3 separate regions of the Homo sapiens genome follow, and regions 1 and 2 are each linked to region 3. The links are contacts of gene promoters, found by promoter capture Hi-C in blood cells and fetal thymus (Javierre and others, 2016). All regions are on one chromosome and are shown on one strand. Each heading gives the region's core, a stretch centred on a gene start or on the middle of the fragment in contact. The rest is flanking DNA. Distances are from core to core; before and after follow the strand shown.

The links. Contacts are between HindIII fragments. The CHiCAGO score rates a contact against its expected background, and 5 or more counts as called.
Region 1: a fragment that was not itself captured here is called in contact with the fragment with the promoter of FABP9 in region 3 in 3 of 17 cell types (M0 macrophages, M2 macrophages and M1 macrophages); the score reaches 6.4 in M0 macrophages.
Region 2: a fragment that was not itself captured here is called in contact with the fragment with the promoter of FABP9 in region 3 in 1 of 17 cell types (M2 macrophages); the score reaches 6.2 in M2 macrophages.

What each region holds. Positions count from the first base shown.
Region 1 is chr8:81,293,832-81,296,679 of GRCh38, reverse strand. No RefSeq gene overlaps it. Among named protein-coding and RNA genes, the nearest start is that of LNMICC, 14 kb to the right of the region's middle. The HindIII fragment of the contact is 9,479 bases long and covers 1-2,848 here.
Region 2 is chr8:81,270,141-81,272,950 of GRCh38, reverse strand. No RefSeq gene overlaps it. Among named protein-coding and RNA genes, the nearest start is that of FABP5, 9.0 kb to the left of the region's middle. The HindIII fragment of the contact is 1,948 bases long and covers 302-2,249 here.
Region 3 is chr8:81,460,194-81,462,893 of GRCh38, reverse strand. It overlaps FABP9 (fatty acid binding protein 9), which reads left to right and starts at 1,315. Exons shown (of 4, transcript NM_001080526.2): 1 at 1,315-1,443. The coding sequence starts at 1,371. LOC101927118 (a long non-coding RNA gene) reads right to left here and starts at 1,436. Exons shown (of 9, transcript XR_001745980.2): 1 at 920-1,436. The HindIII fragment of the contact is 22,583 bases long and covers 1-2,700 here.

The DNA of each region.
Region 1 (2,848 bases), core at 194-2,693, 170 kb after region 3:
GTGATATTTTTATCAGTAAATGGTTATTAGTTTCCTACAGGAAGAGACTAAAGGATTAGGTATAAACATGTATTCATATCTACTCAAATAATTCCTGTATAAGTACTCATGAGGGGCAGAATAATTTCAGACATCAGATAGCATCCATTGAACTCTTGCGGCTGCCTTATCATCAAGTAACCTACATCTCTCCTCAATGCTGTTAGCAGCACTTAGCAGCTCAATTCTTGATCTCCATTTGTACTTAGACTTTAGAGTCTCTTTAAATTGAATAAAACAACATAGCCTGAACTTTGGTTATCTATAAGAGCAAAAGACTGAAAACAATCCACAAGACTATTAATTAAGCCTTTCCCAAGTATATTTGCAATTTTCTAAAACAAAACAGCACCATATGTCTGATAAGGACCTACCTTAGAGGAGTTGTTAAATTAATAAAGCAAGGTACAGAGATGCATATATAATTATGCCTGGATTTACAGAGAATATTGCTAGAAAGATAAATAAGAAAAAGGTTACCATGATTGCCTCTAAAAAGGAGACGAGTGGCTGGGGACAGGGGTAGTAGGAAGGCTGACAATTTTACTACTGTATTTTTGTATTTTGTAATGTGACACTGAAGTTATTTACAGACTCAAAATGATTTATTAATTTTTTTTAAAAACCAGCATGGGTATTGGAATTAGACAGACTTGGATTAGTATCCTGACTAAGGTTGCCAGACATAAGATGCAGGACATCCTGTATTTTTTATTTTATTTTTATTGCTAGATAAAATGCAAGAGTCCTGTATTTTTATTTGCTCAATACAGCAATCCTAGGTCCTGACCTCACCATTTATTTTGTTTGTAACTCTAAACAAGTGAGTTAGGTCAGATTCCTCTGAAACAGAAGGAAGGAGAGGAAGCCATGAAGGATGAGATCTCAGGCTCAGCCCCATCCTGTGGGTGAATTCAAGTGTGAGTTCAGCCTTGGTGTTGTCCCATCTTCAGCAAGGGAGCTGGGTTTCATATTCCCACACTGCACCAGGCAGCCCTGGCAGAGAAAGAAGAACACAAACTCTCAGTCACTTTCAGCCTTCTGCATGTGTGGGAAAAAGGGCTCTAGTAGTCCAAGGACAGATTTCCCACAAAGAGCCTTAGCTGCTGGCTGCTGAAAGTACACCAAAGCCAGGGGGATAAACCATAAAAACGTATTCAAAGGGACAAGCAGGTCACTGGGAGTCATGGTGAGCAAGGTCACTCCTATTCCTGCCTCTGGTTCCTGAGCCTGTAGATCGCTCCCATTGGATTCCCATTTGTACTTAGACTCTAGAGTCTCTATAAATTGAATGAAAAGTAGCCTGAACTTTGGTTATCTATAAGAGCAAAAGACTGAAAACAATCCACACAAATTTTATTTTTATTTATTTATTTATTTATTTATTTTGAGACGGAGTCTCACTCTATTGCCCAGGCTAGCATGCAGTGGCATGATCTCCGCTCACTGCAACCTCCGCCTCCCAGGTTCAAGCAATTCTCCTGCCTCAGCCTCCCAAGTAGCTGGAACTACAGGCGTCCGCCACCATGCCTGGATAAGTTTTTGTTTTTTGTTGTTGTTTTTTTTTTAGTAAAGTTGGGGTTTCACCATGTTGGCCAGGCTGGTCTTGAGCTCCTGACCTCAAGTGATCCACCCACCTTGGCTTTCTCCCCAAGTGCTGGGATTACAGGTGTGAGCCACCGCTCCCAGCCACCATGACTATTAATTAAGCCTTTCACAAGCAAATCTGCAATTTTTAAAAACAAAGCAGCACCATATGTAATAGCTGCTGCTTCATGCTGCTTACCACATCCTGAAGGACAGTACCCCAGTCTTGGGTTTGCCTTCAACAGACCGTTCCATGCTCCATCAGGCTAGAATCGTCTGAAAGTGGTGGTTTGTGGTAGGAACAGCAACTTTCCTCATCATGGACTCTTTGCCACACTTCATTCACCATAGAATGGGTCTCAAGGTGATGTTATATCAACAGATGAAACACTCTGTGGGCCCCCAGACAGCAGTGTTGGCTGGGGACCTGCAGAAGAAGGGAAAGCTCCTTTGTGGAATATGTCAATCTGGTCAGGATGAATTGAGCCCTGGAGTCCTTTGAGTAAGGACTGGAGGGATCCCTGCTGCATACACTTATGGTGGTGTTGCAGGGAGTTCTGTCTACCTATTGCTACAGAACAAATCACCCCAAAACGAGGCTTAAACAACAATCATTTTATTATGTCCCAAGGTTTTGGAGGGTCAGGAATTTCCAGGGCTCAGCAGGGCTGTTCTGAGTGAGTTCCCCAGAAGCAAAGCCAGAGCAAGAATTTGCATGCAAGTGATTTGTTAAGGGAAGTGTTAGGGAAAGATCTGTAAAGGCGTGAGAGAGGGGAAGTAGGAGTGGGAAGAGGAGGAAACTGAGGCAGGATATGATCTCAGACCATGTTCTACAGAGGGCGGGCTTTAGCCTGATCCAGGGAGCAACTCTGGAGGGTCAGTTATATCTCAGTTATATATCAGATGTCCTCATCTGATGCAAGGGACCTGAGCTTTCACACTCCTACACTTGACAGTCACTGGTTGTTTGCCACCCTGGGCATCAGGTTGGAATTGGAGGGTAACTCCCAAGCATGCCTGACTCCCTCCATGTGAAGCTCCAGAGGCCTCTTCAAATTGCTGTTCAGCTTCTGTTTTTTGATTTGTAAAATGGAAATAATATTTGTATCTGCCTCATATTTTGGCTTTTACTATTATTTTTAATTGACACTTAATTATACATATTTATGAGGTACAGTCTACTATTTTGATATGTGTATATAATGTGAATTATGAAATCAGG
Region 2 (2,810 bases), core at 26-2,525, 190 kb after region 3:
AGTCTCAGAAGCAAAGCTGAATGATTTCTTGCCACACATACTCTGATGCCCTTGTCTTTCAGTAGAAACTGTACGTGGTTCCTGGGGAGAAGACTATGGTTCTATATGACAAGTTTTATTTGTTGCATGTTGTAAAATATTATCACTTCTGCAGCTATGTTATCAGGACATCATATAAGTGTCAAGACAGAATAGGACCAGCTTCTATAAACAGGAAAGAATGCCATTTACTGGTGTCCCTTTGAATGTATTTAGCATATGAAAGTTACTCTATGTTATGTACTATATGGGAAAAAAAGCTTTTTTCTCAAATTAAATACCTTTCCATTTTATTGCATTTTTGCATTTTGTTGACATAATCATCTCTGAGATATAGTCACAGAAACAAAAGTTTGACCCCAATATGAAACAGAAAATCAAAACTGCCTAATATTCCATTTGAAAGCATGTGGTGATACAAATCATAACTAGAAACAAAATAAAAATCACATAAGAGTTCAACAAAACATTTATTTGTCATTTTCCAATCAACGTGAATAGTGATGGTAAATCCTGCACACACAAAAAAGTATTGGGTTTCCTTTTGCTTCGTGCTTTACTAAGCAGGTGTCAGCTGCTTCTGGTTTTCCAAGGCAAGGCTCTAGTTCTTTCACACCCAAAGCCTTAGGGCCTCAGTACTCTGAGGGAACCTAACTAGTCCAAGTCACTAATCCACATGAACAAGTAGAACTTGATCTTTGCTGCCCACACCCAAGACATACAGTTTTTAATTGCGTATTTGGCAGTAATTCTTGGTCAGACGTGATCTCAGAACAATGAGTTGTCACTTGAGCAGACATATTGGTAAATTCTTCAAAGTTGTATAGTTTCATTTCTGAAAATAGATTAGTGGCTTGGATTTAGGACTAAAGGAGAATCAAAATCCTAGAGTTTAAAGGAATTTTAGATGTCTTCTAATTCAGCTAAAACTCAATCAAGATTCCTTTGACAAAAGATTTTCTGAGTAAGCAAAAATAGAATTGCAAATTATAGGTTTATCAAGAACACCAAATATATTCCATAATCATTTAAGTATTCTTTAAAATACTTTATGGGAAGAAAAATGAAAATGAAAAAATAAGGGGATTAACCTAAAAATTAAATTATTTCTTTCAATTCGTATTTGGCCTATGAAAATAATAGTTATTAATTCATAGTTCAAACAATACTAGAGTATGGATTATAAATAGACATGAGAAATGTAACACTGCAAGTAATTGTGCCATTGCTTGGCCTCCCCCCTTGTTCCTCAAGAAAACCATATGTCATAATAATATGTCATATACTTACACAAACATGCATAATTTGCTCACTATTTAAACTGTAGCAGAGCCTTTTTGGTCTCTTAGAAAATCTTAAAAAGTATATATCTTTTTTTAAAGTATTTTTTAAAAAACTATTATCTTTGTGTCCTCAATTCCCCTTTGTCTTCACTTGAATTGAAAACAATCTTAAAAGATTTTTTAAGAATCAAATTGGACATAGCAACTTTTGTCTCTATTATAATTCTAGGCCATAACGTTAAAATAGTCAGGCAAATAAATATTAGTATCATTTGTAAAACAATAATTTTATTAAATATCTGCTCTAAATACATAAAAAGTAAAAGCAGTGACCTAGGATATAGGAAACCCTTGTTCTAGACTTTGCTACAAAATACCTGTTTAAATTTAAATTTTTGTTTTCTCATCTGTAACCTTAGAAGAACAGAAGAAATTAAAATTTCCTGTGAGGAGTTTTTTGAATACAGACTCCATTATCAAACAAATTAGGGAAATTGGGCATACCATGATTCCCATTGGATATTTCCAGCTTGTATGAGCATACTAACAATGCCAGGAAATCTTGAACTTAAAAAATACATTTAACATTTTAAGAGCAACATCTCTACAAATGGATTGATTGCAAAACCTGCCTTGTTTGCTGCCATCCTTTTAGCAGCACTTAGAATGCTCTGAAGAATACTCTAGGAAAATGCTGATGATAATCTTCAGCCTCCAAAGTATTTGATTCTATCACCAAGACAATGTTCTGCGGGAATGAAGAAATATAGTACATAACTAGTAATGGCCTCGAAGAACATACATATCAGTTGTTCATGGAGGACATCTATGCATGAAAACTTACCTCTTAATAAAGGTCTTCTGGACATGTTCTATTGAGGTTCGGAAAGTGAATGCAGACCAAAGGTACAGTATTTAGAGAAAGCTTTGTATATATGACCTGGGAGGCCAAAGTAGATGCCCCTTTATCAATTAAACCAGACCTTAAAGTTGAAACAAGTTCCCTACAGGTTGAGGGTTCAGGGCTCAGCTAGCATGGTATTGTCCTAAATTCCTACAGCTTTAAGGAAAACCACACCTTTGCTAAACTCCTTAACAACAAGAGGAATCAGGCAAATTATCAGAACCTTCTTAACTCTGATTTACATCCCAGACCACCACAACTTTAATTGAACAGAGGACACACCTTACATTCTTTCCTGATAAGCGACTGCAGGCCTCAAGCCAGTTTCAGCCAGTTTAATAGAGATGCACAAACTGTCTTTGTGTCCTATAGTTCACCTTTTGATGTAAAGAGCAAAGTCCACCCCATTTTAATGCTAAAATCCCGCCCCAAAGTGAACATGGGATATATGTTCCATACATTTTTACCCATTGCTCATGCACCTAACTCCTCTGAGATATGGATAGCTTTTCCCCAAACCTGCAGAAGCATAAGAGACTTGGAGTTTAAAGGGAGGGACTATTAAAAAGAGAAAAGAGAGGAGG
Region 3 (2,700 bases), core at 66-2,565:
AGCAAACGTTTAACAACTTGCTCTATATTTGAACATCACCTCTGAATGCACTTTCAACTGCTGAGGCACTTATTTTGAGCTTGGGTCTTAGTTTCCTGAAATTAACTCCAGGATTTTCACTTACCCTGTTTTGCACTGTAGATAATTTAATAATTGTCCCACCCATAAAGATATCACATTATATGTTTCTTCTTTATATGTTTTCATCAAAAGCCATCCTTTATTCCACTTAAGTTATTGTTTTACAGTACCAAAATATCAACCTCCTGTTTATTTTGTTCACAAACAATATTTTCTGAATTAAATAAATACTTCATACAAAGCAGGTAAAAATATAAATATTCTTCTTCTGGTCCCTGACACTAACTTTCCAACATCTTCTAAAGTTAACTGGAGTTCAAAACCGTAATGTAAATCAACAGCTACTGAATCTACTCCTTCTTACTAAACTCAGTACCTGCAAAGTCCACTTCCATTATTGGGGTTGCAGAAGATGGTTTCAGAAGTAATGGCACAGAGATTGAAACCATTTGCTGCCTTTGTCTTTCTTTTAGAATGCAGATTCCAAACATCTTTTTCTATATGAAACTTGCCAAAATTTTTTCTTATAATTTAAAATATCTTTTAATGTAGAGTTTACTTTGTAAGCCTGAAAGACGAATTTTGTAGGCATTCGCTCTGCTTCCTTTTCAGAGCTTAAATCATATACTATTATCCAATGATAATTGTCACCTTTCTTTCCTGTCCTCAATTACCTTCGATTAACAACAATGATAATATATTAATAATACCCTCCATTTCCCTCCAAGCAATTATAGGCATTTTAGTTACATTAACTAATATCAACCCATCAACCCTGTAAGGAAGGGAAGGGAAGATATTATTTTAATGAAGAGGATGTTTGAGCACTGTGACTTACCCAAACAAAAAACAGCTGAGGTGGACCAAGCAAGGATTTCTTGTCTTAGGTAGGAAAACATCTCAGCCAGGTGTTTATCAATTTGTCAGGATATTCCTCCAGGGTTGACTCAGTATTCATTGTTCAAAAAGCTGATGTCTATTGAAGATTGTCTCCGTTCCACAAGTAATATTTGTCAGGTGACTTGGGTGTAAATCTTTTTGCTAGAAGCTAAAATCATTGACCAGAATTTAATTTTACATGCTAATTTTCTGTCTCTTAATTTGGAGGTAAATAAAATGAGTCAAATGCTGGTGCCTAGAATCTTTAGTCTTGCTGCTGTTGCCCATTGGCCATTTCAGAAGAGTCACGTGATGAAGACGCTCTTTAAATTAAACTACTGGCAGCACCGTAATGCCTATATTTCTTTGGTTTTCAATTACGAGTGGCTCTTCTCAGCAAGTGTTCCATGATGGTTGAGCCCTTCTTGGGAACCTGGAAGCTGGTCTCCAGTGAAAACTTTGAGGATTACATGAAAGAACTGGGTGAGAAATACCATTACAAATTTGGAAATTGGCAAAGCATTTTGTGATGTGATTGGGTTTGTACTTTACCATGAATTTTCCTACAATTATCTTCCTTTTGTGATCCTAGGGTATATAGACTAACACAATGTATGCTTCTACTTTTGCTTTTTTAAATTACTAGTAATAATTGTCTCTTTTTGGAAGACTAGGCCCACAGACACCTCTGTCCAGTCATGATCCATATATTTAAGCCCATTTATCCTTTTTGAAAATACTTCACCTAACTTCTAGATAGAATTTCATTTTAGCTTGGTCATTTCATTTAATAACATTTTTCCCAGCTTCAAATTTATAGACAGTAATCACTACCTACAATTAAATTGATCAATTAAATTTGTTTCAAGGTTTAAGTTATAGCTTTAAAACAGCAGTATCAACTAACAAAATTTCTAGTTGGTTAATTTTTAGAGTTCTCATAAATGTGAGAGATATTTTATAAACATGGTTTTGAAGAATTACAAATCTGAAGAAACACAACATTTTTACTCATTGAATGTCTCACCACTGGATATTCCTCAGAATTATAAACCCTACCAATCCTTTAATCTCTAACTCAAGTCATTTAGTTACACATTAATTATAATGACTTGGGTGTATAATAGCTAAACTGTTCTTTACTAATGGAAGAACAGCAATTATTTCATATTTTTCATATTTAATTAAGAGAAACCTCCCTTGTAGTAAACTGTATACAAAGCCAAGGACTTTCTTATCTTTACTTTTTTTTAACTTACATAACATGCTTAATGGATGCTTACAATTATTAATTATGTTTACTCATTCTAGACAATGAAATAACAATGCCTTATCCCCATAATAAGTCAATGTGCTTATAAATGTAATATTTGTTCCTCTGATGTAGTCAATATTCACTTTCTCAGAGGGTCATAAGAAACAAGTTTTTCTGTCTCTTCATAGATTTATAGACTCACTTGTTTTGAATAAAAATTGGGGGGGTATATAAAAAACTTGGGCCTTATGGCCAGAGTAGCACTTGTGTTGACTGGGAGCTGGGTTTAGGCATAATACAAGCAAGAATAACAGCTGAGCAGTTTCTATGTGCCAGTACCATGCTAACCCCTTTCATTTAACCTTTTAAAACATCCGCTGGCTGGGTACAGTGGCTCAGGCCTCCAATCCCAGCACTTTGGGAGGCCAAGGCAGGTGGATCACCTGAGGTCAGGAGTTCGAGATCAGCCTGGCCAACATGGTGAA